7 separate regions of the Homo sapiens genome follow, and all the other regions are linked to region 7. The links are contacts of gene promoters, found by promoter capture Hi-C in blood cells and fetal thymus (Javierre and others, 2016). All regions are on one chromosome and are shown on one strand. Each heading gives the region's core, a stretch centred on a gene start or on the middle of the fragment in contact. The rest is flanking DNA. Distances are from core to core; before and after follow the strand shown.

Region 1 (3,160 bases), core at 392-2,891, 510 kb after region 7:
ATTAGGAGAAGAACAAGGCAGATAAAGAGAGGAAAAAATATAGTGTAGAATTCAGTAATGTACTACTGTTCATTTGTCACAACTTTAATGTACTTTTGACCTTACAAATGTACCTCAAGCAAGTAATTCCCCTCTCCACACCCACTCCCCATAATGGGAAGAATGTGTTTAGAAGGGTTCACTTAGTGCTTATTTCTGAAGCAGGTTATTTCTCAACCTTATAAAATGAGATTACCAGAAATTCTGCATTTCCTTTGTAATTAGGATCAAGATGTAATCATCTGGCCCTGAAATGTGTATATTATAGGGGTAGGAATCTAAGCTATAATGTTTTGTATGTACATCTAAGAATTGAGTTAAAAGATGTTTCAAAGCAATGAAGAAGTCACATCCATTCTCTACCAGTGGCCATGTATTAATTCTCCCGGAAAATCATTTCTCCGAGTTAATAGAATCTTTGAAGCTAAATCAAGTCAATTTCCATTGTCACATTGTGATGCTTTTGAACTGGGCTCACTGAATTATCCTATTTGATGACCACTTTAAAGATGGCTTTGTTGTGAGCCTCAGCAAACCCACAGCCGTATCTCTGTGTCAGCCTCCCCACCCCACCCCATTCATTCAAATCACTTAATGAGCAGCTCAAGGCAAATGCCCCCCGTAACTACATCCCAGGCAAAATAGATATATAGTAGGTAAAATAGCCTATGTGATGTGATTGAAAGAACACTGAAATCAGGAAACCTGATTTTGCCACTAATTAGTGGAGTGTCTTTAGGTAGGTCTCAGTTTCCTCATTTGCAAACTGAGGAGCTTACAGTAGATGATCTCTAGGAATTTGGTAGTCAGACTTTGGTTTACAGACAGGTAAGTATGGAATTTGGGAGGAAGCATTTGTGGTAGCCACTCCCCAAGGTGACCCTAGTGATTCTTGTTTCCTGGCTTCACCTCCTGTGTTGTCTCCATTCACATGGAATAGGGCTAACTTGTCTAACCAATAGGATATTGAAATGATGGAATGTGACTTCTGAGGCTAGATCCAGACTGTTGCTTCCACCTTGCTGTCTCTTGGATCACTTGTTCTGGAGAAAAAAAAACAAAAACAAAAACAAAAACAAAAAAACAGCTGTCATGCCTTGAAGCTGTTCAGACAGCTCTACATGGAGCTCCATGTGGTGAAGAGGAACTGAGGCCTCCTGCCACCAGCCAGCACTCATCTGCCCATCTTATAAATGAGCCACCTTGAAAGCAGAGCCTCTGGCCCAGTCAAAGCCTCAGACAACTGCAGTCCCAGCTTATATCTTGAATATAACCTCGTGAGAAACCCCCAAGCTGGAATCAGTCAACCAAGCTGTTCTTCAATTTCTGCCCTACAGAAGTGATACAAGATAAATAATTGTTGTTTTAAGCCACTGAGTTTTGGGGCAATTTGTTATACAATAAGCTTTTATTTTGTATGCATTTTTAAATTCTTATTTTCCCAGTCATCCACTTTTTATTATATTGTACAAAAGTGTCAATCCATGGTAGATTGAAAGTTAAAAACTCCAGAGTTCGAAAAGCGCTGATCAGAATAATACAATCTTAGATGAAGGCTGAAAAAGTTTTTGAAATTATCCAGCCCATCCTCTCACTGAGTGAATAACTTGTCTCTTACAGTTTTCTAGCAATAAAATTCTAATTCTTGGCAGCATTATCACCATTAATGTTATTAAACATGACTTTTATTGAGCATTTGCCAGGTAGATGCACTATCCTAAGTATTTTATGGTCTTTACACCAACTCTACACAGCAAATATTTCTATCTTAATTTTACAGAAGAGGAAACTGAAGCTTGGGATAAAGTCAAGACTTTAATTCATCGAGGTCATCTCATTCTAGACTATATTGCCTCTAGCTTCATTAATTTGTTTATCTCCCAAAACTTAATTTTATAGAACCAAATAACATATATATATTTTCAGACTGCTGGAAATTACTTTCTCACTTATTTTAAGGAAAAAGAGACAGAATTCAAATCCTAGGCCAGGTGCGCTGGCTCATGCCTGTAATTCCAGCACTTTGGGAGGCTGAGGTGGAGGGATTGCTTGAGCCCAAGAGTTCAAGATGAGCCTGGGAAACATAGCAAGAACCCTGTCTCTATAAAAAATAAAACAAGGGCTGGGTGCGGTGGCTCATGCCTATAATCCCAGCGCTTTGGGTGGCCGAGAGGGGTGGATCACGAGGTCAAGAGTCCAAGACCAGCCTGGCCAGGATGCTGAAACCCTGTCTCTACTAAAAATACAAAAATTAGCCAGGCATAGTGGCACATGCCTGTAATCCCAGTTACTCAGGAGGCTGAGGCAGGAGATTCGCTTGAACTCCGGCAGCAGAGGTTGCAGTGAGCTGAGATTGTGCCACTGAACTCCAGCCTGGGCAACAGAGAAAGACTCCGTCTCAAAAAAAAAAAAAAATAAATAAACAAAAAATAAAATAAAATAATTAGCCGGGCCTGGTGGCACACACCTGTGGTCCCAGCTACTTGAGGGACTGGGGGGAGGGGAGGCTGAGGTGGGAAGATAGCTTAAGCCTGAGAGGTCAAGGCTGCAGTGAGCCAAGATTGTGTCACTACATTACAGCCTGGATGACATAGTAAGACCCTGTGTAAAACAAAAATATTAATATAGCCAATGTAAACCAAGTGTTAAAAGCATTTGCCAACAATAAATGTTTTCATTGCATTTAATGTTACCTAACAAAATGGGAGGGAGTGTAAATGTATAAGAGTCATCTTTGGAGACAAATGGATGTGGTTCTAGTTAGTCTTCTCATTTGTAAATGAAGATAATATACTTACATTAGCATATCATTGTAAAAGTTATGGGTAGTCTACATGAAGCAATGAGAACAGTTGCTGGCATTCATGCATGCATGCATTCAATAAATATGTATTGAGCGTTTCCAAAAGGCCAGGCACTGTTCTTGGCAATGGAAATACAGTGGTGAGCAAGATAGCAAGGTCCCTGTTACCACAGCACTTACATTCTAGTGGGAGGAAACAAAATAAATAAATACACAAGTAAATGAACAAATTTATTTCAGAAAGTGATCAATGAATTAGGATAAAATAGAGCAATGCGATAGAATGTCAAGAGATGCAGAGAGATGTCGTTTTAGAGG
Region 2 (3,583 bases), core at 45-2,544, 370 kb after region 7:
CACATCCTAGTGTGGAAAACCTGGGCTTAGCCCATCCTAGGTGTAGACTGCAGAGCCCTTGCGTAGATGCTTTTGACAGAATCACCTCCATATGAGTTTCATGTCCTATTTGTCCAAGAAGTTGAGCATTCATGCAATGTCTCCTTAAACCCCTTATTTAAGCTCTCCAAATCTCAGTCTTCTCATCTATAAAATGGGAAGAATAGCACCTATCATCGAGGTATGTTGTGAAGTTTAAACAAATAATACATAAGGCCGGGCATGGTGGCTCATTCCTGTAATCCCAGCACTTTGGGAGGCTGAGGGGGGTGGATCGCTTGAGTCTAAAAGTTCAAGACCAGCCTGGGTGACATGGTAAAACCTTGTCTCAAAAAATAAAAACAAAAACACACAAAAAACTAGCCGGGCATGGTGGCGCATGCCTCTAGTGCCAGCTACCCGGGGGGTGGGGGGTGGGTGGGGAGGCTGAAGTGAGAGGATCGCTTGAGCCCGGGAGGCGGAGGTTACAGTGAGCTGAGATTGTGCCATGGCACTCCAGCCTGGGTGACGGAGAGAGAACTTGTCTCGAAAAAAAAAAAAAGAAAAGCTTAGAGTCTGGTGAAGATGACTTTTATATTTTTCAGTGAGAGAAACTATTTCTAAAAAGAACTCTAAGGTCACTGGGAGGAGCAACAGCAGCAGCATTGACAAGAGGGTCTCTTACACCAAGTCAACGTTCGTCGGTTGCATATTAAAGAATAAGAGCTGGGCAGCACTGTGGATGCCCCTCAAGGCTCAAGGGGGCGCTCTAAGCTTCAATTCTAGGGACTTGGCAAGCACATTCAGCCAGGGCTTGTGCTTTGAATACAAGCAGAGGCAGGGGAGTTTTGCAGAGAAGGAGGTAGGTGGGCTGTGCTTAGGAAAATTGGATTTTCTGCCAGTCTGGGCATGTGGAAGCTTGAGAGATGCATTTGGGAACATTTTTGGGAAAATATTTTTTACCTCTCAAATTCTACAATTGAATATGGTAACTTAAATATATGTATATATTTAGGTTATATACATTAAACATGCTATTGTAAAAATTTCAAATATTAGAGAAAGTGTAGCTTTGAAGGTGAAAGTCCCCCCACTATGGCCCTTCCACTTAAAGAAGAAAAAGTGTTAAGCGTATTTGTTATGCATATTTGCTATGTAAAGTGTTAAGCGTATTTGCTATGACTAAATTAACTACTCAGCTAAATCACTATATGTATACAAGAACATACGCATATGTTTTTATATAAGTATAAGTGCTGACATTTATTTTTTATTTATTTATTTTTTGAGACATGGTCTTGCTTTGTCACCCAGGCTGAAGTGCAGTGGTGCCATCTTGGCTCACTGTAACCTCTGCCTACTGTGTTCAAGTGATTCTTGTGCCTCAGCCTCCCGAGTAGCTGGGACTACAGGCATGTGCCACCATGCCTGGCTAATTTTTAAATTTTTGGTAGAGACAGGGTTTCGCCATGTTGGCCAGTCTGGTCTCGAACTCCTGACCTCAAGTGGTCCGCCTGCCTCGGTCTCCCAAAGTGCTGGGATTACAGGTATGAGCCACCATGCCTAGCCATGAATGCTGACATTTAGCTTCACAAGGCTAACTTGAGCTGTGAAGCAAAAGCCTGGAAAGCTTGTGTCGTGTGGCCCAGGACATGCTCTTCCCATGAGCAAGTAGCACAAAAAGCAAATTATCAGAAACTTACGATCTGAGTGTGGAAACAAAACAAAGGGAGGAAATTAATCTTCTGAAATTTCTCTCAACTAAGAGGGTACCCTTCTCTTACTCCCCCTCCAGCACATCCGGGAACTAGTATCTCACAGCACATATTTTGAAAAATGCTGACTTTCTGTTTGTCATTTTTAGGTTTCCTTAAAGCAGAAATTATAGCTAGGTTATGTTGTTGCCTTTTAAATTATTTTTTTTTTAGTTTATTTTTTTATTGATCATTCTTGGGTGTTTCTCGCAGAGGGGGATTTGGCAGGGTCCTAGGACAATAGTGGAGGGAAGGTCAGCAGATAAACAAGTGAACAAAGGTCTCTGGTTTTCCTAGGCAGAGGACCCTGGGGCCCTCCGCAGTGTTTGTGTCCCTGGGTACTTGAGATTAGGGAGTAGTGATGACTCTTAACGAGCATGCTGCCTTCAAGCATCTGTTTAACAAAGCACATCTTGCACCACCCTTAATCCATTTAACCCTGAGTGGACACAGCACATGTTTCAGAGCGCACAGGGTTGGGGGTAAGGTCACAGATCAACAGGATCCCAAGGCAGAATAATTTTTCTTAGTACAGAACAAAATGAAAAGTCTCCCATGTCTACTTCTTTCTACACAGACACGGCAACCATCCGATTTCTCAATCTTTTCCCCACCTTTCCCCCCTTTCCACTCCACAAAACCGCCATTGTCATCATGGCCCGTTCGCAATGAGCTGTTGGGTACACCTCCCAGACGGGGTGGTGGCCAGGCAGAGGGGCTCCTCACTTCCCAGTAGGGGCGGCCGGGCAGAGGCACCCCTCACCTCCCGGACGGGGCGGCTGGCCCGGGCCGGGGGGCTGACCCCCCCCACCTCCCTCCCGGACGGGGTGGCTGGCCTGGCGGGGGCTGACCCCCACCTCCCTCCCGGACGGGGTGGCTGCCGGGCGGAGACGCTCCTCACTTCCCAGACAGGGTGGCTGCTGGGCGGAGGGGCTCCTCACTTCTCAGACGGGGTGGTTGCCAGGCGGAGGGTCTCCTCACTTCTCAGACGGGGCGGCTGGGCAGAGACGCTCCTCACCTCCCAGATGGGGTCGCGGCCGGGCAGAGGCGCTCCCCACATCTCAGACGATGGGCGGCCGGGCAGAGACGCTCCTCACTTCCTAGATGGGATGGCCAGGAAGTGAGGACTGGGCAGCCAGGCAGAGAGGCTCCTCACGTCCCAGACAATGGGCAGCCAGGCAGAGACACTCCTCACTTCCCAGACGGGGTGGCGGCCGGGCAGAGGCTGCACTCTTGGCACTTTGGGAGGCCAAGGCAGGCGGCTGGGAGGTGGAGGTTGTAGCGAGCCGAGATCAAGCCACTGCACTCCAGCCTGGGCACCATTGAGCACTGAGTGAACCAGACTCCGTCTGCAATCCCGGCACCTCGGGAGGCCGAGGTTGGCGGATCACTTGCGGTTAGGAGCTGGAGACCAGCCCGGCCAACACAGCGAAACCCCGTCTCCACCAAAAAAATACGAAAACCAGTCAGGCGTGGCAGCGCGCGCCTGCAATTGCAGGCACACGGCAGGCTGAGGCAGGAGAATCAGGCAGGGAGGTTGCAGTGAGCCGAGATGGCAGCAGTACAGTCCAGCTTTGGCTCGGCATCAGAGGGAGACAGTGGGGAGAGGGGGAGGGGGAGGGGGAGGGGGCCTTTTAAATTATTTACATTTGAGTGAAAGTTAATATTTTTCTTTAACCTACCTATGGGTTCTTTGAAAAGATGTTTAATGACCTATTTAAGGTGACTAAAACCATCATATTAATTTTTTACTCCAAAGATAGTAGTAAAAGGGAAATTTCCGATAGCAGTTATTTAAAATAAATTGACAA
Region 3 (3,149 bases), core at 458-2,957, 390 kb after region 7:
CAGTTCTGGACTGCATCCTTTAAATGACAACACTCAGATCAGGACAGTGGAGATATTTATTTCCTAGCTCTTCTTTTCATTCTCGTGGTCACTATGCAAGATAAACATGGCCACACTGAATGATCCCAGAGTGGCCGGCTTAAAGTCTAGTTGTAGCACTGAGTGGTTCTACTCAGTATAACTGTATCTCTATTATACTTGTCACCTAGGAAATGTTGAAATTATTTCCCTAAATGCCTCATTCTCCCAGTGGACCATGCGTTTCTTGAGGGAAGAAACCATGCCCTTCATTTCTGTATTCATAGGGCCTAGCAAAGTACCTGGTACATATTAATAGTAAGTCATTAGTAAAGCTTTTTTTGAGATAGGGTCTGGCTCTGTGGTCCAGGCTGGAGTGCAGTGGCACGATCTTGGCTCACTGCAACCTCTGTCTGCCAGGCTTAAGAGATCCTCCTGCCTCAGCCTCCTGAGTAGCTGGTACTACAGGCACACACCACCACACCTGGCTAATTTTTTTATTTTTAGTAGAGACAGGGTTTTGCCATGTCGCCCAGGTTGGTCTCAAACTGCTGAGCTCAAGCGATCTGCCTGCCTTGGCCTCCCAAAGTGCTGGGACTACAGACTGAGCCACCACACCCAGCAAGCAAAGTTTAAATGAATGGATGAGTAAGTAAATGAAAGCTGTCTCCTGCAGAAATGTAATCAGAGCATGAACTGATGAAGGAACTGAGGAAGCTTAGTCTAGCCTAGAATAAAGAAGACCTGAAGGAGCTAGAACTATCTTGCAAGATGTAAAAGGCTGTTATAGGCATGAGGTTGTAGTGCAAGTTTGTGCTTCTTCAAGTGGAAGGCCAAGGAAGGCCAGTCTCTTAAACAAACAAGAATCTAACAGCAATCGCCTTTCCATCTCCTGAACCAGAGGTGGGATGGCCATCAGGTGGGAATGTGGGAGAAGGAGTTTCTGCATCGTGTGTCAGGCTGAACAAGAGGCCACTCAGGCTTGCAGCGGTCTTGTCACCACTTTGTGCCAGTGCCCAGAATAGTGCTGGCCACATAGAAGGCACTTGATAAATATTTACTGAAGAAATGAATAAACAGTCTTCTACTAATTGAAGATTCATTCAACTAACATTTATTAAATTTTTCTGTGTGTTAGGTCTGTGCTTGGCTGCAGAGGCTGTTTCAGGTAAAAGGACTCAGTCCCATCCTAAGGGGGAGTGTATCATTCTGGTTGGAGCACCAGGTAGAGCTAGACTGTCTGGGTTTGAAATCCAGCCCTGCCAATTACTTTACTTTGTTATGCCTCAGTTTCCTCAACTATAAAACGGGAGTGAAAATAGCATTCACCCGAAGGAATTATTTTGATAACTAAGTGAATTAACACTTGGCATTAACCACTCAAATGTTAATGATTATCATGGTACAGACTTTCCAGCAGGGCCACAGGTAAGTTACTATTATGTGATGGATGCTTTGATGGGTGCATCCAGACTGAAATATGTGAGCACCTGGACAGGTTAATAAATAGAAATTTTATCGAATCAATGTGCTGTAAATCTTTATTCAGTTTTGGGTTTTTTTGTAACAGAGTCTCGCTCTGTCATCTAGGCTGGAGTGCAGTGGTGCCATCATGGCTTACGGCAGACTCAACCTCCTAGACTCAAGCGATCCTCCCACTTCAGCCTCCCAAGTAACTGGGACCACAGGCATGCGCCACCACACCTGGCTAGTTTTTACAATTTTTGTAGAGATGGGGTCTCGCTATGTTGCCCAGGCTGATCTTGAACTCCTGGGCTCAAGCAGTCCTTCCACCTTGGCCTTCCAAAGTGTTGAGATTACAGGCATGAGCCACCACACTTGGCCATTTATTCAGTTTTTAAAACGGAAGAGGCTGAGCACTTGCGGAGGCAGGACTGCTGCTCACCCACCAGAGTTTTTTGGTGGTACTTTCCCTTCCTCTAGAGCTTTCTAGCATATACACTAGACATATATATTATATGTTGGGACCCTGTCAGGAGGGAAGGGCGAAGAAAGGAGGCCTGACACCCAAAGTTCTGAGCAATTCCACTCTGGCCCCAAATTCGCATTCCCCACTGGACCAAACAACCACTCCACAGTAAAACAGAGGTGACACCCTTGGAAGGCATGCCCCTTGGGGCACATTACCCCCAACCCTGAGGGACTTATCAGCATATTATTTCTAACCACATAGTGTACTATCCTGACAGGATTCTAGGAGATAAAATTTTTCTAATCTTATTACATCTCCTGTGATTTTTATTCCCCCTTGTAGATTTCTGCCCCAGGTGGTTGATCAGCTGGTCACCCCTTAACCCCTCTCTGCTCATGGGGGCTGTACAGAGTGCCCTGAGGTTGGTACCTGGTCCTGAATTGGAGGGTCAGGGAAGGGTACCTGGTCCTGAATTGGAGGGTCAGGGAAGACTAAAGGATATGTAGGAGTTAGCTATGCAAGCAGTTGGCAGGAATGGAACAGCATGTGCAAAGACCTGAGGTCGGTGGAGCATGGCACATTCAGGGGAATGGAAGTAGTTTAGTGTGGCTGGCACATAGGGCATAGGGTGTGTGCATGGAGAGGGAGAATGAAGAAAATGCTGGAGAGGTGTGCAGGCTCAAGCTCGTGAGTGGCCGTGGAGGTTGTGTTAAGGACTTTAAGCTTGATCCTGAGCCACAGTAGGTATCTCTGAAGGGTTTTAAGGAAGGTGGTGAATGGAACAGGTTTGCATTTTAGAAAGAGCACCCCATCTGGAGAAGGGATCAAGAAGGATGGGTGTGTGTATGTGTGTGTGGGTGCGTGTGCATGCGCGTGTGTGCACACTCCACCGCAAATGTGCTGGGGAAGGGATGGTGTGGTAGGTAGGGCTGGATGCAGGGAGAAGAGTTAGGAGGGTGTTGCAATACCTCCTGCAAGAGATGAGGGGACACTGAAATAAGAAAGCCACAGCATCGTGAATGGAGAGAGTTGTAAACACATTTGGGAAGAATTAACAACCTCTGGCTATTGGCTGGAAGCTGAGGATAATATTTTGGGAGTTCTCTGGCTCTTAACGACAGTATGTGCAAGATACTAGGCCAAAACCAAAGGGACAAAAATGTTACATGTGAATGCCTGACCCCCCCTTCTTGACTAG
Region 4 (3,445 bases), core at 1-2,500, 290 kb after region 7:
TTACTGGAAAGACAAAAAACCACAGAATTAATTTTTGTCTTTAAAATAGTGAGCATTAGGTCTAAAATAAAAAATATAACATCTTTACCAGCTGATCTTGATTAAGCCTTTCCCCTTTGTTCATTCGTTCCTGGTAATCATCAAGCTTACCCTATGTTAAAAGAAAAAAAAGAATTACATTCCGTTTTGAAGGTATATACCAGCTTAAGCATGCTTGACAAAACCCTCACAATCCTCTAAGTTTGTCTCAAATTTTGACTTAAATAAACTTTTAAGATATATTCCAGTTTAAGTACATAAATTTTTTTTTTTTGAGACAGAGTTTCGCTCGTCACCCAGGCTAGCGTGCAATGGCACGATCTTGTCTCAATGCAACCTCTGCCTCCCACGTTCAAGCTATTCTACTGCATCAGCCCCTAAAGTAGCTGGGATTACAGGCACTCACCACCACGCCCAGCTAATTTTTTTGTATTTTTTGTAGAGACAGGGTTTCACCATGTGGCCAGGCTGATCTCAAACTCCTGACCTCAGGTGATCCACCTGCCTCGGCCTCCCCAAGTGTTAGGATTACAGGCATGAGCCACCGCGCCCAGCCTAAGTACATAAAACTTTTTAGATATACTCCAACCATTGCTGAATGATATCAAAGGCTGTACTGTAAACCAATGGCACAACATTATTCATTCTTTAGCTTAATCAAGAAAGAGTATTAGATGGACTAGGCATATGGCTCCTACCCACATGGGTAAGGGCCACAATTTGGTTAGGATCCTGCTTATACCCAAGTGAGCATATCAGACATTTATCAAGTTAAATTTTTGCCTCTCCCTCTCCCCAAAGAATTCATGTGACTAGGTGATATAAGAGTATTTTTAGGCTGAACACGGTGGCTCACACCTGTAATCCCAGCACTTTGGGAGGCCAAGGTGGGCGGATCACCTGAGGTCAGGAGCTCGAGACCAGCCTGACCAACATGGAGAAACCTCGTCTCTACTAAAAATACAAAATCAGCTGGGCATGGTGGTGCATGCCTGTAATCCCAGCTACTCAGGAGGCTGAGGCGGGAGAATCACTTGAACCCAAGAGGCAGAGGCTGCGGTGAGCCGAGATCGCACCATTGCACTCCAGCCTGGGCAACAAGAGTGAAATTTTGCATCCAAAAAAAAAAGAGTATTTTTTCGGGCCAGGCACGGTGGCTCCTGCCTGTAATCCCAGCATTCTGGAAGGCCAAGGTGGGTGGATCATTTGAGGTCAGGAGATTAAGACCAGCCTGGCCAACATGATGAAACCCCATCTCTACCAAAAAACACAAAAATTAGCTGGGTATGGTGGTACGAGACTGTAGTCCCAGGTACTTGGGAGGTTGAGGTGGGAGAATCACTTGAACCCTGGAGGTGAAGGCTGCAGTTAGCTGAAATAATGCCAAAACTCCAGCCTAGGCGACAGCGTGAGATGCTGCTCCCCACCCCAAGGGGAAAAAAAGTATTTTTTTTCTGAATAAACTCATGGGCATATTGTCTTTAATGTACTTCATCCATTTATCTTGAACAAGATAGCTACCACCTCACTAATACACAAGTCAACAGCTTTGCTTTGTTAGTTCAAGGGTGAGGACAGAAAACTAACATCTGGTTTAAGATCCCATTTTCTTGCTAAGATTAAAACTTTGCAGGTTTCCCAGGCTACTATTAAGTAAGACCCCACAGATATTCAGGTAATGCAACAGAGTCACAAACTATTATTATTGTAAAGGTCAAGAGGACAGTGAATGAGGATAAATCTAAATTAACAGGACAACACTTAATCCCAATAAATTATGAACATACATAGTTCCTTACCCCCTTACCAATAATAAAATTGTGAAACAAAGTACAAAGTTAAATTCTAATAAAGGGCATTCAGAAACCACAGAAGCCAGTTTAAAAGCAATGGTAATAAGTTTTGTTTTTTCTTTTTTTTTTTTTTTTTTAGGTCAAATGATCTATTTTCTTTGTACCATAAACAAATGTCAACTTGCCTAGCCATTCTACCCCAAATTGAAAACCCTACCACAATTCCTTCCTAACACTGGAGGTAAATAAAACCAAGATAATCACTAAGACATTAAAGGCTTTTAATAGTACCCAATTTTATTATTAGATGAACTATTTCACACCATCTATAAGCCTCCAAATAAACAGGTATAAAATTTCAGTCTACTGATTTGAGGGAAAAAAATTTTTTTTTACACTGATATGACAGACCTGACCCCAGGTGCAGAAGATGTGTCCAATTACCTCACAAAATACTCTGAGGATCAACAGATAGTTCATTCTCTTTTTTAAAAGGGAAGAAAAGGGAAGACTCATAAGCTTGGGAAGCTAAAAATTTTTAAAATAAAAAATTCTATTTGCTTAAAGGGTAGGCTATTTTTAAGAAATAAAAAACTAGACCAGGCCCGGTGGCTCACACCTGTAATCCCAGCATTTTGGGAGGCCAACGTCGGCAGATAACAAGGTCATGAGTTCAAGACCAGCCTGGCCAACACTGTGAAACCCCGTCTCTACCAAAAATACAAAAATTAGCCAGGCATGGTGGCGCGCACTTGTAATCCCAGCTACTCAGAAGGCTGAGGCAGGAGAATCGCTTGAACCCGGGAGGCAGAGGTTGCAGAGAGCTGAGATCATGCCACTGCACTCCAGCCTGGGACAAAGCGAGACTCCATCTTAAAAAAAAAAAAAAAAAACTAAATAAGTTTTGAATTTATGATTTAGGATATTCCAAAATAATAATATTATAATCACAATTCCTCTATTTAAAAATATACAAACAGAAAATACGCAAATAGGAGGGCCTAAAGTTCAGTGCTAGTACACAGTTCATTATTACTGAACAAAAGAAACACTGTTATTAACTTATACCTGGTATTTACTATCTTCATTTTTCTATAGTATTGTACATTTTTCAAGAAAATTGTTGCTAAATCTAGAAATACACCATACATCCCTCATGGGGTAGAGTTTGTATATCTAACCAAAATGGAGGTAGAATCAAACTCCTAAAAAATGTTTGTGTAGCGATGAAAATAAATATAAAAAGATAAACAATGAAAAAGGTAAGAATGGTACCTGAGTGGTAAAATTATAGCCAGAGCTGTGTTCCTTTTGCTTTGTTTTATACACTTAACTACTGTGCAATGAACATATAGTTTGTTTAATGAAAACAATAAGAATTCCACGCAACAGAAAAGATACTAAAATTGACAGACTTCAGTACATTGTTAGGACTCTCACCAATAACAATCCTTAATTATGAACCTATACTATCCTATAGTAGGACAAGCTATCCTAGAGTAGAAAACCTCCAATTTTCTACACAATAACAAATTTAGAATTCATCCAAACCGAGAGCTATCGCAGATTACATTTTCCAAAGATAGCTACAAAATCTGCATGCAGTCTCACAT
Region 5 (3,485 bases), core at 261-2,760, 350 kb after region 7:
GCTCATGCCTGTAATCCCAGCACTTTGGGAGGCTGAGGTGGCTGGATCACGAGGTCAGGAGCTTGAGACTAGCCTGACCAACATGTTGAAACCCCGTCTCTACTAAAAATACAAAAATTAGCTGGGTGTCGTGGCGCGTGCCTGTAATCCCAGCTACTCAGGAAGCCAAGGCAGGAGAATCGCTTGAACCCGGGAGGCGGAGGTTGCAGTGAGCCAATATCGTGCCACTGCACTCCAGCCTGGGCGACAGAGCGAGACTCCATCTCAAAAAAAAGAAAAAAAAAAAAAAGAATGCCTTTGCCCAGCCCAGCTGAGCTACCAAATTTAACGGGTGTGCCTGCTCTCCTAGTTACCTTAGAACAGCCTTCAAGGTGTCTCTTTCCTAAACAGAAACCCAAATGGACAACAGAGCAAAAGATTCTTGCCGAAGCCTAGAGAGGAAAGACTGGGATCCATATTTAAACACTTGGTTTATCCCCCTCTCTTTATTCTTCCTCCCACAATACCTCTGAGGCCAAGAAGGGGCAGCATTGTCCTCCTTCTTCTTCCTGTATGGAACGCTACAGTTCACTAGCCTGGACCTTGATAAATAAAGATAGACGTAAAGGAAGATCCACAGTCCTCTCTTGCTAGAGTAGTGCATGAAAATCCTATTTTTGAGTGTCAGAAGCTGGATTTCCTCTTTGCATTCCTCTGTAACACTTTTAATCTCCCCAGGCAAAAGGATGCCTCAGGAAGACAAGGGTGGAAGTCATGTGTTCTGACAAGCTAAATATAAAAGCACATGAGTAATTTTCAAATGACCAGTATTACCTCCATTTCACTTGTCATCAGAATGTCCTAATTAATACCCACCTACTCAGACTTGCAATAAAACTACAGCTGCCCCAAAGCCAGGCACCTCCATAATTGATCCTCTTTCCACTACAATGGTGGTAATAGCTAACATTTATGAACATTTACTATGTACTATGCAGTTTATTTCGTTTAATTCTCATAACAACCCTATGTTGTAAATACTACTGTTACACCCATTTTACTGATGAGGAAACAGCCTTAGTGAGGTGACCTGCTCAAGGTTACATACGTAGTAAGTGATAGAGGAGGAATCTGAAGCTTGGTTTTCAGCTTCTAGCTGCTTCCTTCCTAGTTTTTACCTACTAGTCTCCACTGCTTCCCATTTGATCACCATATACACAATGGTTAGGTCTTTAGACTGAACCAACCAATTTAACCCAACTGGAGTAGAAGCAGTTTTTCCAAGATCTTTCCTACCAACTGAAGTTAATTGAAATGTACAATAAAATCTGAGAGGATGTGTTTATGTCAAAACTACAGTTGGCTAACTTAGAAGTTATTGCTTCTAGAAATCTTGGCAGTAGTGATAGTTTAATTACCTTAAGTGAAGATACTAGCTTAAAAACAGGACAGGTGTGGTGGCTCACGCCTGTAATCCCAGCACTTTGGGAGGTTGAGGCAGGTGGATCACCTGAGGTCAGGAGTTTGAGAGCAGCCTGACCAACATGGCAAAACCCCATCTCTACCAAAAATACAAAAATCATCTGGGTGTGGTGGTGGGCACCTGTAATCCCAACTACTTGGGAGGCTGAGGCAGGAGAATAGCTTAAACCTGGGAGGCAGAGGTTGCAGTGAGCCAAGATCACGCCATTGCACTCCAGCATGGGTGACAGAGCAAGACTCCATCTCAAAAGCAAAAAACAAAAAACAAAAACAACAGGCAATGCTTCAATAAGAACAATGCAATGTACCTTGGCTTTAAAGCCAAAGCATGTTGCAATTAAGTTATAGATTAATAAATCATTGTTCTAACCTTTATTTTCCCTTTGCCCTAATTCTTCATCTGTACTTTATCCTTTTATATGGAATGATTTTTTAAAGCTTCTGCAAATACTGTTGGGAATGAAGTAGGAAGAGTTAGTAAATGAATGAATGAGTGCATGAATCACTGCATTGAAAAGGTTAAATAATAACAACTAAATTTTGTATGCCACTTTGTAGTCTTGTACACATTCTTTACCATTAACTGTGAACTTTTCAGAGACCAATTCTGCACTTATCTTTGTGTCACCAGGATCTGACACAATTCATTCATTCAATAAATATGTTTGGAACTTCAGAAAAAATGATAGTACAAAGAGCTTGTCTTCAAAGCGCTTATAATGCACCGGATAGTGCCAGGTCTATTGGAAGAACTCGGTGAATATTCACGAAATAAATCTCTCTTCATCTCCACAAAAGAACCTTGTGTGAAAAATCATTTCTAGTTTTAAGAAAGATGTAGAGAAACCATATGTCCTGTTCGTGGTGGCATATTGGAAAGAGAGATGGCCAGATATTCGAATCCAGGTATTTGGACCCCAAAGTCCTTGCTCTTTCTACCACATTAACAAAAACCACACAAGGCAGGTGGACACAGGTTTTTTCCATCTGTCTAGCATTTCTGTGGGTACCCACCAAGGTGCCGAGGGAGGATGCAGGTGAAGCACACCTTCCCAATCAGAGGCCTGCATGCTCCTGGGCATGAAATATCCAGAAATGTGCACATTACTCATGCCAAGCCAATAGCAATAACTGTCTTCCCCCAAACTTGGCATCTTTAAACAAGGATGCATTATTTCTTGTGATTCTGTGGGTTGACAGGGTGTTCTTCTACCCTGTGTGGCGTTGGCTGGATTTACTCACAGCTGCATTCTGCTGTCAGCTGGGCTGAGCTGAAAGGTCCAGGACCCTAGTAATGACTGTCTGCTGAGGTGCCTCGATTTTCCTTCATGGGCCTCCTTCCATGTGGCATCTCATCCTTCAGGGCCTCTCTGTGGGGCCTCCATCCAGTGACATAGCCTGGACTTCTTTACAGCATGGCAGTTGGGTTCCTAGACAGCAAAGCAAAGGCTGTTTGTCTTTCAAAGGCCTGGGTTCAGAAGTTCCAGAATGCGTGTTGGTCAAAGAAACCATCTCAGGTTCAGGAGGAAAGGAAATAAACTCCACCTCTTGACGGGAGAAGTGGCATGCTCACACAACAAAGCGAAGAACTGTTCATGGGAATCTACCCCGGAGCCCTCTCCATGACAATTATAACACCCATTTTCCTGGGAATCACAGAGGCTAAGAATCACACACACCCAGAGCTGCTAGGGCCATCTTTGCAGCCCGGGGACAAAGCCTGCTTGAGGACGAAGCCATTCCAGAGGAAAGCAGAGCCAAGAGGTGGAGAAAAAATGGTGAAACTCAGTTTTCCACTCAGGTGGAACACAGAGGCGGCAGAGCTAGTGATTAAGAGTATAAGATTTGGAGTGATATGGCCCTTAGCTCCCATCCTGGCTAATTATTAGCCATGTGACTTTGGGAAAGTTATATAATATCTCCAAGCCTCAGACCTATCATCTGTACACTGTGGATGAAAATAGTACCTGCCTCCATAGGATTGTTGTGAGGATTAAGTGTGATAACTTTTGTAATGAGCTTAG
Region 6 (3,183 bases), core at 124-2,623, 330 kb after region 7:
ACATTAATTAAAAAAAAATAGATACATGGTCTTGCCATGTTGCCCAGGCTGGTCTTGAATTCCTGGGCTCAGGCAGTCCTCCTGCCTTGGCTTCCCAAAGTACTGGGATTACAGGCATGAGTCACTGTACCCAGCCCTGCATGTTAAATTTTTTTTAAAAAGAAAAGAACAGGCTGGATGCAGTAGCTCATGCCTGTAATCCCAGTACTTTGGGAGGCCGAGTTGGGTGGATCACCTCAGGTCAGGAGTTCGAGACCAGCCTGGCCAACATGGTGAAACCCCATCTCTACTAAAAATACAAAAAATTAGCCTGGCGTGGTGGCAGGCGCCTGTAACCTCAGCTGGGCGGGAGGCTGAGGCAGGAGAATTGCTTGAACCCAGGGGGTGGAGGTTGCAGTGAGCCAAGATGGTGCCATTGCACTTCAGCCTGGGTGACAGAGCAAGACTCTGTCAAAAAAAGAAAAAAAAAAAGGGAAAAGAACAAAACCAACTTAACCAACTTCACTTCTGTTACTTCTCAAGATAAGACTAGATTTTTATTGCCCCCCCCCCTTTAATTGGCTATGGAAAAACAGTGGGGCCACTCAGAAATACCTGTGTGTAACCTTGCTCGGGGCTAGTGCAGGGCAAGTCCTTACAGAGCCAGGGACTTACCAGGACATAAAATATCTGCCTCATGAGTCTTAGAAGGTCTAAAAGTATAGTACTATGTGCCCTCTGGGCATGCATGCTCAAGTTAACTGGAAATTAGGGCAAGTAAGCAGAGCTTGGCAACAGAATTTGAATATACTCCCAGAGGTTCTCCATTGTGGAGTTTAGGGAATTAGGCATCCATTCATTTAAATAAATATTTATGGGCACAATCAGAATCACCAGGAGCAGTTTTTTTCCCCTAAAATACACATGTCTTTATAAGCTTGCTTTGCACAGTCCTTCAGAGGCTATTTATTTCTTCCCACACACTATGCCTGAAATTTAAGTAATATAAAAAAGATGAATGATGGTACCCATGTAGGATTACATGTCAAAATGGATTGTTATTCTTAAGTCTTAGGTAACTACTCTGATAAAACGTCCTCAATAGATTCTCTGCAGAAATCATTAATAAAGCAATTGCTAATTGTAGAGAAAAAAAGAAATAAACCCAATAAGGTCAAGTACTTTCTTATAATAATTATGGCCACCATTTACTGACCACCTACTCTGTGCCAAGAACACATCTTGTATGTTTTCTTTTCTATTCTATTCTTTTTTTTTTTTTGACAGAGTCTCACTCTGTCACCCAGGTTGGAGTACAGTGACGCGATCTTGGCTCACTGCAGCCTCTACCTCCTGGGCCCAAGCAGTCCTCCCACCTCAGCCACCTAAGTAGCTGGGACCACAGGCGTGCCACCATGCCCGGCTAATTTTTTGTGTTTTTTGTAGAGACGGGGTCTTGCCATGTTGCCTAGGCTGAGCTTGAACTTCTGAACTCAAGTGATTCACCTGCCCTGGTCTCCCAAAGTGCTGGGATTACAGGTGTGAGCCACCATGCCTGGCTTATATGTTTTTATTTAATCTCTACAATGACCCAGTGAGGCGGGTTACTCTCTCCATTTTACCAAAAAGAGAACATGGAGACTTGGAGAGTTTACATGTTCAGCTTAGTTTACATGATCTAGAGCTACAGTTTAGATCAGAGTAAACTGAGGCTTTGTCTGATGTTGGGCCTAAAATTTAGAGGGACAAGAAAACAATTATTTTAAAATGCTACATTTTAAAGTGGCTTCTTCCTTTAGGAAAGAGTTTCCACCTTTATATCCCTACCTCTGGCTTTGGTGGCAAGCTTTCCTGTATACTGGGACACCGCCCTTTGGCAACCTACCGAGATCTGACTATGTGAGAACCCTCACTGCCTTTCCATTTCTGCTTTAAGATAAATGTTATGCTCTTTGTCATGGTGCTGGATTTGAGCCCAGCTGAATGTTTTTTGTTTTTTGTTTTTTTTTTCTTTTTTGAGACGGAGTCTAGCTCTGTCACCCAGGCTGTAGTGCAGTGGCATGATCTCAGTTCACTGCAACCTCCACCTCCCGGGTTCAAGTGATTCTCCTGTCTCAGCCTCCCAAGTAGCTGGGATTACAGGTGCCCACCACCACGCCCAGCTAATTTTTGTACTTTTAGTAGAGATGGGGTTTCACTGTGTTGGCCAGGCTGGTCTCGAACTCCTGACCTCATGATCTGCCCGCCTCGGCCTCCCAAAGTGCTGGGATTACAAGTGTGAGCCACCGCCCCCGGCCCTGAATGTTGGTCTTTAAAGACCAAGGAAACTATCTTTTCCTCCTGTTCCTTTTCTTCCTCTTCCCCCTCCTTTTTAAAAATTAAACTTCTGCTACTTATAGAAAACAAATCTCATCTAACATAGAAACTTCACTTAGAGCCAAAAGCCTTCTAGAACTTGGGGCCTTAACACAGCTTGGCTTTCAAAGCTTTGGAGCTGGAAGCCAGACTGAAGTGCCTGAGCCTGGAGTTTGCTACATCTGCTCTTGGATGCTGCCAGCTCACTCAGTTGAAATCTGAGTTCTGTAAAGAGAAGTTTCTGCTCAACAATGTCACCCTGGCACTCGGCCTCTATGCCTGCTGAAACTCTGGCAGGCTACAGCCTGGACTAGGGCTGTTGGTCATTTCCTCAAGGTGCTCTAAGCCAAGATCACCCTGCATTCCCTCTGCATAGCTCCTCAGTGTCAACTCTTGAAGCCTCCCTTCAAGGGCATTGAGGCACGACCCAGAACCTTCAGTTTCCTTAGCATGAGGCAGAAGTGAACCCACTGGTTCAGGATCTTCAGGCTCTTCCTATCGTCATGGGGAGTTTTTCTGTTTTTTTTTTTTTTTTTTTTTTTTGGTCTTTCCTATCATAAGTGCTTTGTAAGGGTCACCCAAGTCCACCCTGGCAGGTTCCATTAACTTTCAGTTTCAGACTACGAAGGTGAAAAACTTGATCTTTTCCAGAAGATTTCAACTCCAGGAAGGTATATTGAGATGACGTAAGGCCAACGGTGCTGGTGAATGTTTAACAACCAGCTCTCTGGGGGAAAGGTGTGTGCACGTGTGTGATATTGTGAAATATGCATTTGGTCGTCTTCCCTATTTTCTGGCACAGAACTCCCAAGACCTTTGTAAATAGGGGTGCTAGGAGAGTCTTTTGTT
Region 7 (3,518 bases), core at 706-3,205:
AATTTTGCATAATATATCTTCATGTTGCAGGTCAACATTCACAGGATTCTCAGATTCAGTTGGAGGCATGTTTGATTATCTACACTTTAAGTCATCAAGTAATTTGAATATATTAATATAAATCCCATAGGCTCTTTTTCCCACTCCAGATGATTCCTCCAATAACCTTTCATTCAGTAAGTTCCCCGTTGTAAATTTCCAGTTAAGTAATTCTCTTTAGGTTTGATGGGTGCGCACAACGAAGAAAAGGGGGGACAGGGAAACCTTTCTGAAATTCATTTCCTTTGAATATATCCATTAGAGGGCGACATTGCCTTTAATATTATATTTCCCCAATAAAGTTTTAAATTGCATAAAATTTACTTTTGTATTTTTGACAAGTTGGACCTCATTGCCTACTTTAATTTCTAATCTCACGTCTGTAAAGTGTGACTGCATTCTCCTTTGTTAGTTTGATCTCTGCTGACTTGCGTCTTTGGTATTACAGTACTTCCATCTTTGACTCTGTTCCCAATTCTAACCATCGGGCGGCGATGTTGCATAAATAAAGACCCGCGGAAAGGCAAAATTAAGCGAAACTGCCAAATAAAAAGCAGTTTCACCGGGGGTAAAGGCCATTAATTTAAGAAGGAAAGAGACAAACCAGACATTTCTAGTTCATATCCAACTCACGGCCCAAGGTCAGAACTGTGTAAAATGCAACACAAAGGAGCCATTCAGGAGTGGGGGAGGCTGACTTGGGGAGAGCGAATGCACAATCCCCGCCTTGAGCCTGCGGTTCCACTGGAGGGGGCACAGGTCCGTTTGCGCACGTGCGTGTGAGTAGCCACAGGGCAGCGGCGGGACATGCCTGCACCGGGCATGGGACTGCTGAACCAACAGCGCTCTGGCGGACCGTTTGGGACACCCGCCCGGAGGCAGGTTGGCACTGGCGCTGCCTGGAGGTCAGCCACTCATTGTACCCCGGAGGAACTGGGTCCCGCGGGGGCATACGGCTCGCCCACCGGCACGCGTTAGGAGGCGAACACCTGCATCCAGCTAGGTGTTCCGAGCTCAGCCCAGGGCGAGGGACTGCTCTGCCACCTTCTTCTCATTCTTCCTGTAAGAACACTGTCTATCTCGGACAAAAAGGACCCACCTGACAGCAAGTGGTATCGTCACACAGAGGTAACAGGGAAGTCACGGATCCTCTTGAGAATCTGACAAAAGTTGGTGCCCCTTCCCCATAGTGGCACTCAGAAAACTGCAGGTGAAACCACAAATGGGCGGAGGCACTCACAGGCTTCCTGGGGCCCGTCCATTGATCAGATACCAGGTTAAGAAATTCTGTCCTTATTGGAGCCTAGACGGCAGCGCAAAGGAACCAGACGGACTTGGAAAGAGAGGCAGGGACTCCCTCCTCCCTCCAAACACAGCCAGCGTTTCATCTCGGATTGCGGGAGGGGCCTGGCGGAAGGTGGAGGAGAGGTGGAGCGCCTGGATGGGGCCCTCCCCATTCTCCTGGCCCCAACCCCAGGACGCCTGGCTGCGGAGGGCTCGAAAGCGAGCAGCGAACGCCCAAAGCCTGGGTGGCGGGAAGGTGGCAGCGCCCTGTAGCTTTTCCTTTGCATTTTTCTTTAAATCGTGAGCTCCGGAGCTATCGTTTCGACCGCTGCTTTCCGGTCTCCACCTCCACCTCCCAGTTGGCTGGCTCGCCCTTCCCCCACCCCCCCATCCCCCCCATCCCCCCCCATCCCCACCCCCATCCCAGCCGCGTGCCCGACCCTCGGCCTCCAGCCCCGCCTCCTTCGCCGCGGGGTTTAACCCGAGGCAGAGTGAAATCTGCATAGTGACCGCCCCCTCGGAGATCATTGGTGCAGCCCCGCCCATCGCGGCCGGTGATTGGTAAGCCGCCCGGGGTTATTTGCATGTCGGACGCAGCCGGGTACCCAGCTGTGCTGCCGGCCGGCGCAGCGCAGAAGTTTGCAGAGCGCTTTCTCGCCGGCTGGTCCCGGACTCGCGCTGCGCCCTGCGCCCTGCGCCGCCGCCTCCTCCTTCTGCCGCCGCCGCCCTGTTCTCCCGGGATTCCTTCTCTGTGGAGGACTGACTCTCTGCTTGTGGGAATTAGAGGTGGACAAGGGGGAGTGCCGGGGGGTAGCGACGGGGTTCTTTCCAGTGGCAGCTGCGAGTCGGGACGCCGGGAGCGTGGGGCTCCTGCTGGCCACGGATCTCGGCCACCTTCCCGCGGCCTCCGGGCAGGCAATGCGGCCGCCGAGCCCCGCGACGCAGAGAGGAAGGAGGGTGGCCCGGAGGGCCTAGAGCTTGTTTCTGCCCACTTGGGAAAGAGGGCATGGAGTTGTGAGTGCCCCTCGCTCGGCGACGCCGCCCTCGGCAGGCTCCCCATGGCCGGGACGTACAGCTCGACTCTGAAGACGCTGGAGGACTTGACCTTGGACTCCGGGTATGGGGCCGGGGACTCGTGCCGCTCGCTCAGCCTCTCGTCCTCCAAGTCCAACTCGCAGGCGCTCAACTCTTCGGCGCAGCAGCACCGCGGGGCGGCCTGGTGGTGCTACTCCGGCTCCATGAACAGCCGCCACAACAGCTGGGACACGGTGAACACGGTGCTGCCCGAGGACCCCGAAGTGGCCGACCTCTTCTCGCGCTGTCCGCGGCTCCCCGAGCTGGAGGAGTTCCCCTGGACCGAAGGAGACGTGGCCCGGGTGCTCCGCAAAGGCGCTGGCGGCCGGCGGCTGCCCCAGTTCTCCGCCGAGGCGGTGAGGCGCCTGGCCGGGCTGCTCCGCAGGGCACTGATCCGCGTGGCCCGCGAGGCGCAGCGCCTGAGCGTGCTGCACGCCAAGTGCACCCGCTTTGAGGTGCAGAGCGCCGTGCGCCTGGTGCACAGCTGGGCGCTGGCCGAGAGCTGCGCGCTGGCAGCCGTCAAGGCGCTGTCCCTGTACAGCATGAGCGCCGGCGACGGGCTGCGCCGGGGCAAGTCCGCGCGCTGCGGCCTCACCTTCTCAGTGGGTCGCTTTTTCCGCTGGATGGTGGACACCCGAATCTCCGTGCGCATCCACGAGTACGCAGCCATCTCCCTCACCGCCTGCATGGAGAACCTGGTGGAGGAGATCCGGGCCAGGGTGATGGCCAGCCACAGCCCTGATGGCGGAGGGGCCGGAGGCGGGGAGGTGTCTGCTGAGGCCCTGGAGATGGTCATCAACAACGACGCCGAGCTCTGGGGCGTCTTGCAGCCCTATGAGCATCTCATCTGCGGCAAGAACGCCAATGGTAAGCGCGCGGGCCTCGGACTGGCAGACTGGGTAGGCAAGAAATCCCGCCCTGGGCTACTGGGGGAGTGAATTTCCTGAGACAAAGCTGGTGGCTGTGCCAGTTCTTTGGGAGAAAACGTTTGGTCTGAGGATAGGGTTCATTACATGGCACTTGCCAGAGATTGTTCTAAGGGTGTCTGACTTTTGGAGGGTAAACTTGTGAATGATCTCCATCCTGTTCTGCGTGGCATTGTTACTATCTGCGGGCTGTTC

The links. The method cuts DNA at HindIII sites, captures the fragments that hold promoters and counts their contacts. A CHiCAGO score of 5 or more calls a contact.
Region 1: a contact is called between a fragment that was not itself captured here and the fragment with the promoter of ABTB2 in region 7, in 13 of 17 cell types (naive CD4 T cells, activated CD4 T cells, naive B cells and 10 more). The highest score is 11.2, in naive CD4 T cells.
Region 2: a fragment that was not itself captured here is called in contact with the fragment with the promoter of ABTB2 in region 7 in 8 of 17 cell types (non-activated CD4 T cells, naive CD4 T cells, activated CD4 T cells and 5 more); the score reaches 7.8 in non-activated CD4 T cells.
Region 3: a fragment that was not itself captured here is called in contact with the fragment with the promoter of ABTB2 in region 7 in 1 of 17 cell types (neutrophils); the score reaches 5.5 in neutrophils.
Region 4: a fragment that was not itself captured here is called in contact with the fragment with the promoter of ABTB2 in region 7 in 3 of 17 cell types (megakaryocytes, fetal thymus and M0 macrophages); the score reaches 6.0 in megakaryocytes.
Region 5: a contact is called between a fragment that was not itself captured here and the fragment with the promoter of ABTB2 in region 7, in 17 of 17 cell types (naive B cells, naive CD4 T cells, M0 macrophages and 14 more). The highest score is 10.4, in naive B cells.
Region 6: a contact is called between a fragment that was not itself captured here and the fragment with the promoter of ABTB2 in region 7, in 4 of 17 cell types (total CD8 T cells, naive CD4 T cells, non-activated CD4 T cells and 1 more). The highest score is 7.0, in total CD8 T cells.

The regions. Positions count from the first base shown.
Region 1 is chr11:33,848,957-33,852,116 of GRCh38, reverse strand. No RefSeq gene overlaps it. Among named protein-coding and RNA genes, the nearest start is that of LINC02721, 28 kb to the right of the region's middle. The HindIII fragment of the contact is 390 bases long and covers 1,447-1,836 here.
Region 2 is chr11:33,985,372-33,988,954 of GRCh38, reverse strand. No RefSeq gene overlaps it. Among named protein-coding and RNA genes, the nearest start is that of CAPRIN1, 65 kb to the left of the region's middle. The HindIII fragment of the contact is 712 bases long and covers 939-1,650 here.
Region 3 is chr11:33,967,420-33,970,568 of GRCh38, reverse strand. No RefSeq gene overlaps it. Among named protein-coding and RNA genes, the nearest start is that of LMO2, 77 kb to the right of the region's middle. RefSeq lists a silencer at 653-947. The HindIII fragment of the contact is 1,939 bases long and covers 738-2,676 here.
Region 4 is chr11:34,068,432-34,071,876 of GRCh38, reverse strand. It overlaps CAPRIN1 (cell cycle associated protein 1), which reads right to left. Exons shown (of 19, transcript NM_005898.5): 3 at 89-151. Among named protein-coding and RNA genes, the nearest start is that of CAPRIN1, 18 kb to the right of the region's middle. The HindIII fragment of the contact is 2,206 bases long and covers 148-2,353 here.
Region 5 is chr11:34,004,334-34,007,818 of GRCh38, reverse strand. No RefSeq gene overlaps it. Among named protein-coding and RNA genes, the nearest start is that of CAPRIN1, 46 kb to the left of the region's middle. The HindIII fragment of the contact is 783 bases long and covers 1,119-1,901 here.
Region 6 is chr11:34,028,071-34,031,253 of GRCh38, reverse strand. No RefSeq gene overlaps it. Among named protein-coding and RNA genes, the nearest start is that of CAPRIN1, 22 kb to the left of the region's middle. The HindIII fragment of the contact is 909 bases long and covers 919-1,827 here.
Region 7 is chr11:34,356,447-34,359,964 of GRCh38, reverse strand. It overlaps ABTB2 (ankyrin repeat and BTB domain containing 2), which reads left to right and starts at 1,955. Exons shown (of 17, transcript NM_145804.3): 1 at 1,955-3,264. The coding sequence starts at 2,382. RefSeq lists a silencer at 1,770-1,969 and an enhancer at 2,920-3,029. The HindIII fragment of the contact is 9,392 bases long and covers 1-3,518 here.